Linked DNA regions of Homo sapiens: all the other regions are linked to region 3. The links are contacts of gene promoters, found by promoter capture Hi-C in human tissues and cell types (Jung and others, 2019). All regions are on one chromosome and are shown on one strand. The core of a region is centred on a gene start or on the middle of the fragment in contact, and the rest is flanking DNA. Distances in the headings are between cores, read along the strand shown.

Region 1 (2,700 bases), core at 165-2,664, 850 kb after region 3:
GTGCCTGCAGGAACTTCAATATGTAGACAATTTCTAAATCACCAAACATATTGCTCGAAAACTACATCCTTCTAGGAAGAATAGACAAATGGGCCAATTAAGCCTGAGGTGAATAATACTTTAAACCTGTAAAGCTTTGTAAATAATTGAAAAACTGTTCATCACTTCAAATACTGTCATCAACATACAAAATAAATATAGACAATTCCATATGAGGTTAACTCAAAAAGGACCTTAACCTTTCAGGTGCAATTAGTATCTAAAGTTCATAGAATTGTTCTTGGCAGTTAACTCAGTTTCACTGGCAAATGACTCAGTTTCTTACTCATGGATTTAACTGAAAATGTTTACAAGTCCTCATTTTACTTTGTTCTGTCTAACTTACTCTCTCTCCAGTGCTGTGCAATCTTGTGTGGGCTCTGGATCCAGACTGCCTGGATTTAGTACTGGCACCATTCCCTCCTTACAACCTAATGAGATCCTGAGAAGCACAATAGAAACTCTCTAAGCCACAAATTCCCTCTTACAAAATGCTAACAATACTGATCATTTAGGTTGTGGATTCAGTAAACTTAGTTGACTTACACAAAGAACTTAAAACACGCTCGGTATACAGGAAGTGCTCAACAAATGTAGCTATTATTATTATCTGTATCCTCTTGTTTGGGCAAAAGAAATGTTGCTCTTTCATGCCTAGCCCTCTTCAAGGTCCTTATCTCTTCACTGTCTTGCATTGTTATTCTCACACTGACTCCTGTGCCTCCGCCTTTGCCTAAGAACATTCTGCCTCTCTTGCTTGTGAGCAATGCCAGCTCACACATTCAAAACCTAACCAAACAATAAAAAACTTCACATGATTCGGGCAACATCCTTCATAGCTGCTCCTCCACTCTGTTTTACACAAAACATTACAATTTTTGAATAGTCTATATTCATTTCTTCCACCATTTACTTTTACCTTTTGCAGTTTCACTTCCCTGAAACTGCGTTCTCAATAATCACTTAATCAACGAATCCACAGCAGCTTTTTCACAATCCTCATATTTCTCATCCTTCCTACCACTGATGAGATCTCCTCCCTTTTTGAAACTACTTTATTTTGCCTTCTGTGCCACTGCACTATCCTAAATCTTCCTCCTTGTTTAACTACCACTTCTCTACCTTCTTGGCTGTTTTCTTTTCCTGTTCCTTCCATCTAAGGCTATATTCACAGGAGTTCTGTTCTCAGTCTCTCTACCTCTCTGCATTCTCTCCCAATTGATGCACCCCTATGATTTCACTACCATGGGATGTTAACTCCCAAATCTCCACCTCTAGTTCTAAACACCACCACCTCATCGCTTGAGTCCTGCCTTTTCTGATTGCTGAAGATGTTCACTTGGTTGTTCAACCAGCACCTCAAACTTACCTTGTCCTAAATCAAACCTGCAGTTTCAGGGAAGTGAAACTGCAAAAGGTAAAAGTAAATGGTGGAAGAAATGAATATAGACTATTCAAAAATTATAATGTTTTGTGTAAAAGAGAGTGGAGGAGCAGCTATGAAGGGTGTTGCTTGAATCATGTGATTCTTAATATTCATCTTAATATTTCCACTTTTATGAATTAATGTCACCATCATTCTTTGAATTGCCAAGGTCAAAATATTTGGATCATCTTTCCTGTCTCAGCACAGTGTTCTGTGCACAAGCTCTGGATGGTGAACTTGTATCCTCATTCTTTCACTGCATGGCAGTGACCTTGAGCAAGTCACTGGGCTTCTCCAGGCTTCAGTGCGGCCTTCATAACATAGTTATGAAGTTTACATGAGAAAACAGTTGTGCAGTTTACATGAGAAGATGTACATAAGGGCACAAAGAGTTTAGCATGTGGCAAACTATGATGAGGATGACAGAAAAAGACTCTCAATGATCTGTTCACACTTTTCTCATTCCTTACATAACTGTTGTCACAACTCACATGGCCCTTACCTATGTCATCGCAAATACATTTAAACACAGGAGGACAACCTAGGTTGTAAAGTGTTAAAGTGCCTCAAATTTTCATTAATCTCAACCAAGCCATTCCAAACCAAGACCTACAACATACATCTACTTACATATCCATGTGCTTTTCTCTCATTGTATGCTAAATAATGCAAAGAGAATTCAGGAACTGACCTTATTTGACCCCAATTTCAAACAGCATTTTATAAGCCATATGGTCAGAAATTAAAATCACTCTCAATTCTTGATAATACAGAGTAGGTATCAGTAACAAACTATAAATTGTTTTGTTATTACCCTAGCCAAACAACCACCTCATGGTCCCCATTTCTCCAGGAACTAAAAGAAAAGTAAATTTAATTTTGGCCCCAAAAAGATGTAATGATTATAACAATTACTGGAAAACAAATATCAGAATCATACACTATATTACACAGTCAGTATAAGTTATTTAATGCCTTTTGCTTTGTATTATCAGTGACTTTGCATCCCTGCAAGAAAGCAGAGTTAATTAAACATTTTTATAAGTATCCATCTAAATATTTACCAAATTTGGTTAAATTAGGTGTCTGTAATTAGTAATTTTTAAAAAGAAAGAGGATAATTACCGCTAACGACTGTAGCTCTCTTGTTTCTTCCTCTGCTGCTGAAGCATGATACGACAGAACCTACAGGGTAGGAAAAGAAGTCCAGGTTACACAGGAGAGAACTACCACAT
Region 2 (2,722 bases), core at 158-2,657, 600 kb after region 3:
CCCATTGTGTGAATAATTTATAAAAGTAAAGAATTACTTAAGAACTAAATATTTACTTGTTTCTTGTTTGTGAATATTAAACTTGAAATTATGAATTGGTGAATAAATTATGAATTGGCTAATAATATGAAGTTAAAAATCACACTGGGTAGCAAATTACATTTCAACTTAAAAATTAAGCTGTGAACATTGACAAATTATTGAAGTTCTTTTTGACATCTTATTTCTTGTCACATCTTTTTTTAATCATAAAATAGCTGTTGAAAAGATTGGCAAAGTTTTCGAGCCTCAGGCAGTGTGTCAGGCTTACCCACAGTGATTTTCTTAAACATGAAAAATAATATATTCCTTCTAGAGAGACTCTGGGATAAATTTTACTGCTTTTTAAAAGTGTTATGAGTATAGCACTTATAGACTTAAGTGGGAGGGAAAGATAAGATTTGTCTCAATTCATACTTAACTTGTCTTGCACCACTGAGTTGGGAACATGATGGGCAGGGTGGAGGTGACTTAAAAGAAGTAAAACTGTGTTTTTGAGGCAATTGTTTATTCTGCAGACCTTCATTTGAATGTCTTTTGTATGCTAGATACTGTGTTAACTTCTGGGCAAATTTTTTTTTTTAAAGGCACGTATATAATCAGAGCGCTTACAGCAATTTAGTGGAAGTAAACGTGTTAAATCTTAAATGAATGCCAGATTTATAGTTCCTCTCATTCTACCATCTTAAGTTTTTATTATTTACTATATGGAGCGATGTTGGCATAGAGGGTATTAAATTCTCATGTATATTACATGACTCTTTCTTGGAAATTGCTTCCAAGATTTAACTTGCAGAGCCTGATCATAATCAAATATAGATTATTTTTCCCCTATAGGGCAATACCTAAAAAATATCTAAGATAAAGAACACTTATTGTTTAAAAAATAAAATCACTGCTTTAATAACTTTGTTTTCTTTGCAGTCTTCATAGATTTGGTGTACAGTAAAGTAGAAACAGGAGAATGAGAGGAAAATGAGATAAATGAACATGATGAAAATGTCAACTAAAAATACGGGAGAATGCAGAAAAACTTACTAGAAATGTTACAGAAGTGTAGACGATTAATTGACAGTTCATGCTAATGCCATATATTTTGCTATCTTCTATGGGCATCAGCATGTTATTTGATGTTCACACTAGTGGCCTAGTTTCATCAGAAGGAGATTTAGTATAATGTCTTTGTATGTTAATGGCATAGTGCAGTGGCATGAGCACTAGCTTTGGAGTGAACCCTGGATTGGTTTAAATGCTCCTACTTACCAGATATATAGAATATAGATTAGGTCACTTAACTTCACTGAGCCTAAGTTTCCTCAAGTGTAAAAAGGGGAATTGTTTCACAGAACAGTTGTGACTGATGTTTTAAAAGACAACTATTACCAACTAGAACAGTAGTTGTCAAACTTTTGGGCCTCAGATATCTTTATAATCTTAGAAAAGGATTTATGACCTAAAAGAGCTTTTGTTATGGTTATGTCTTATATAGGTTATGTCTTATATAGGTTATGTCTATCAACATTTGCTAGATTAGGCACTAAAACTGAAACTTTCAAAATATTTATTCATTTAAAGAAATAAACCCAGTACATGCTAACACAAATAACATTTTTAAATGAAAATTAACTATTGAAAACAAAAATTTAGTGAGATGAATGGCATTGTTTTATGCTTTCAAATCTCAGTTAATGCTTGGCTTCATGTAAGATGGCTGGATTCTTGTTTTTGCATCAGACTGTTGTGATGTTTTCATGTATGAAGAAAGCCCATTTACACACAGATAATACAGTTGGAAATAGGAATATTTTAATAGCTTTTCCTAAAAATTGTGGATATTATTCTTTGACACTACACCAAGTAGTAGTTTCTTTAATGCAGTGTGAAATCTGAAACCATAGTATTTAACTTTTCGTCCTCCATTACATTAAAATACATCAGTCTGTCTTGCACTTTGAATGGATACTTTACTCATGCATGATTTTGTAACATCCATGTAGGGTCATTTAAAAAATACTGGTTTGCAGCCGGGCACGGTGGCTGACACCTGTAATCCCAGCACTTTGGGAGGCCGACGCTGGCGGATCACCTGAGGTTTGGAGTTCGAGACCAGCCTGACCAATATGAAGAAACCCCGTCTCTACTAAAAATATAAAAAATTAGCCAGGCGTGGTGGCGCATGCCTGAAATCCCAGCTACTCAGGAGGCTGAGGCAGGACAATTGCTTGAGCCTGGGAGGCGGAGGTTGCAGTGAGCCGAGATCGTGCCATTGCACTACAGCCTGGGCAACAAGAGCGAAACTCTGTCTCAAAAAAAAAAAAAAAAAAAAAATACTGGTTTGCTGAGTTATGCAGGGCTTCCAAGTGTTGATACATTTCACTAATATCTTTCTAAAAACTATTTTTGTTACTATCACCATAGATACTAGCAGAAAGTCTTTATAAGTATTGGGAAGTTGCAAAACTTGTGGTGGATACAAGTTTTCTTCAAACAGGTGTCATGCTTAGTATTACCACAGCAAAAGTGCTTTATGCATATTTCCCATTTCCTCATATAGAATAACAAAAAGATGTGCAAATGAAGTAAATTAATAAAATAATTGTTACTGTTTCATCAAGCATTCTTTAAGTAAAACTGGCTTAAAAAACACAAGTATATGGCAATGAAGAATACAATTAGTACAGTT
Region 3 (2,736 bases), core at 82-2,581:
TTAAATCAGTATTCAACTTAAATGATTGCCAGATAATACAACTGATTTTTAAAGAAATACACTTTAACTCATATGGACATAAATATTTTACAGTATCCAAGTAGTGCTGACATTACTCAAGGAATTGTTTAGGACTACTTGTTCAAAATTGTCTTTCAGACCTAGTTCTTCGGAAATACATTATAATTATTTCTATAAAAGTGGGCATGACTAAGTAGAATCTAGTCTTGCCCACTTTTGGCCCAGCCTGACTCAACTGGTTTTGATCTGGATGACTTAATATTATTTCTGAAAATTAAATCTACTCTGAAAGAACAGACTTATTACTAATTTTGTTAAGTACTTACCGCGATTTCCAATTAAACTTGAGGCAACATGATGTCTTACTCCACTTCCGCCACTGTAGGCTTGAAATAAGATGGCAAGTGTGGTGAATAATAATGGTAATAACTCAAATAAGACTTTGGCCTTTGCTGCCATCCTATGAAGACAGAATCACCACCCCCCAGCCCTCACCCCTCACCCCCGCAATCCGAGTAATTTCAGGAAGCTATTTGTTTCCTTATCCTTGGGTTATTTTCAGTTAAGACAAATGTACAAGCACAAAAAGGAGTCTCTTAGCTTCTGACTCCTAGGACATAAACCAAGACACGCTTTACTATCACATACTCATTTCCCTAAAGGGAAGAAGCCAAAAAATGCATACTATAGTAAAATGGGAAACATTTCAAGGGACAGTAAGGTGTGGGGAAGAGTGGGCAGATGTTGTGGCTGTTACCTGCGTGAAGGTAAATAAAATATTAACAATAACAAGCACTTCTACACCGCTATGTGCAAGGTGCTATTTATCCTTTCAATCACAGCTCTGTGAGGTAGACACTTATGACTCCCATTTTACAGATGACAAAACTGAGGCTCACGAAGGTGGTTAACTAGCCAAGGCCACTCGTCTAGGAAGTGAGAGGCCAAGGTTCAATCCTAGGCAATCTGGCTTAAGTTTGTGTTCTGTTAAAAAAAAAAAAATTAAAGGTTATCTGGCAATTTTTTAAACGTCAGGACTGTCATCTGTGGAATCAATTGAAAAGGGAATCAACACTTCAGAAACTGTAATACACCAAGGGAACCTGCTATCCTGGGAAAGAGAGATAAAGGAGAAGTCAGCTGACTGTCCTCCTTCAGACTAGCTCAGACCACCCCAACCTGCGAGGGCCCTGGAGACCCCTGTGGCGCAACAGATCCCTTACTGGGTCCCTTCCAAGTGGCGTCACATAGCAAGCGTCCAGAAGGAGGCGGGACTTCCGGGCCAAGCGAGCCAATTCCGGCCGCGCCGGAAGTCTCTACTGAGGAAAGCTATGAGGATACTCTGTTCGTAAGCTCCCGGTGAATTTTGTTCCACAGACTCGGAAGAAAGGTTGGATAAGAGTTCACTGGAGATTGACAAGTACTCGGGATAGTGAAAAGCCGGAGTTGGAACATGGATAGCCGCTTGCAGGAGATCCGGGAGCGGCAGAAGTTACGGCGACAGCTCCTCGCGCAGCAGGTCCGCGGCCCTGGTGTCCCCTGTGGGAGGGATCGAGAATGCGAGTGCGCGGCCGCCTCCTCCCTCCACACCCCGCCTTTTTCTGTCCCTTCTCTACCTGCCGCTGTTAAGGCCTTTCTGGTCCTGCGATCTTGATCCCTGGTTCTGCCTTTGTAGTTCTCAATTTTCGCGGTGTCCCGAATGTTTTTCCAGTTCCTTCCGCGGTCTTTGTGGTGCTAAACCGAATGCCAGGATTAGCCTTTAAGCTTTGTGGAACTCCCACCGAGTGTCTGGCATGTTCACGCCAGGATGAGTGTCATGTTATCCCCTACATTTCTCTTCACTATTAAATGGTCATCTATTTCTTTCTTTTCTTCGTCGTCAGCCCCAAATTCTTGAGATTGTGGTTTCATTATGAAATACGTTTACAGTATTTTCTTTGACATCTTTCTGAAGACAACACTGGAAGTAGCCTGAGTGTAAATTTTAGATTCTGCATCTTATATAGAGTATCCTTGTCACATCCACAGTTAATATTTGAAATCTTACTCTGTGTTAGTCACAATAATCTCCTGAAACAGGTATTATTACCTTCACTTATCAAGTAATGAAAAAGGCTCCATACGTTAAGGAATTTTACTCCTGGTCGCTCACTTCTCTGCTGGGAAATAGAACCTAGGTTTGTCTCCCCAAAGCTTGTCTTCTAAACCATTGTCCTTCACTTCTTTCTTGTGTATGAGTAAGTTAACATTTGCTGATTAGTAGAGTGCACATGCAGAAAATACAGATTGTGCACAGTTCTACTTAAAATCGAGGCTGTATTTTCCATTCTACTATTCAGATCAGTAAAAGTGATAGGAGCAATGCTCATAGAGTGTAATTAGTCATCTTGCAGTTATTTTTCAGTAATGAAACTTGGTTTTAGTAAATGGACTTCTGAAACCTATCCTCTTTATGGTCTGATGAACAGATTTGTGGAATATGGCTAAAACCGTGGAAACTTGGAGTCAGATTTGTTCCTTTGTTCCTTATCCCGCTGGCATTACGATCTTGGGCAAATCAAGTATCCTTTCTAAGTCTTCTTTTCGCCAACTTCTTTTATCGTATTATCTTCAAAAATGTTAAGTAGCTCTTTGTTGCTACCACAGAAGACGTTTTACTCCTTAATATTGAATTCAAACTTCTATTTGACTCAATATACATTCATAGGACAATTA

What was found. The method cuts DNA at HindIII sites, captures the fragments that hold promoters and counts their contacts. A contact is called where the count stands out against the background at its distance.
Region 1: a fragment that was not itself captured here is called in contact with the fragment with the promoter of METTL14 in region 3 in 4 of the 25 tissues and cell types used here (H1 embryonic stem cells, bladder, dorsolateral prefrontal cortex and 1 more).
Region 2: a fragment that was not itself captured here is called in contact with the fragment with the promoter of METTL14 in region 3 in 2 of the 25 tissues and cell types used here (IMR-90 fibroblasts and hippocampus).

The regions. Positions count from the first base shown.
Region 1 is chr4:119,536,370-119,539,069 of GRCh38, forward strand. PDE5A (phosphodiesterase 5A) reads right to left here. Exons shown (of 21, transcript NM_001083.4): 11 at 2,591-2,650. Among named protein-coding and RNA genes, the nearest start is that of PDE5A, 91 kb to the right of the region's middle. The HindIII fragment of the contact is 3,699 bases long and covers 1-2,700 here.
Region 2 is chr4:119,286,594-119,289,315 of GRCh38, forward strand. All of the region lies in intron 17 of USP53 (ubiquitin specific peptidase 53), which reads left to right. Among named protein-coding and RNA genes, the nearest start is that of ARLN, 13 kb to the right of the region's middle. The HindIII fragment of the contact is 6,576 bases long and covers 1-2,722 here.
Region 3 is chr4:118,684,061-118,686,796 of GRCh38, forward strand. It overlaps METTL14 (methyltransferase 14, N6-adenosine-methyltransferase non-catalytic subunit), which reads left to right and starts at 1,332. Exons shown (of 11, transcript NM_020961.4): 1 at 1,332-1,540. The coding sequence starts at 1,475. It overlaps METTL14-DT (METTL14 divergent transcript), which reads right to left and starts at 1,281. Exons shown (of 7, transcript NR_125930.1): 1 at 1,245-1,281; 2 at 348-407. RefSeq lists enhancers at 1,291-1,550, 1,731-1,870. The HindIII fragment of the contact is 10,452 bases long and covers 1-1,999 here.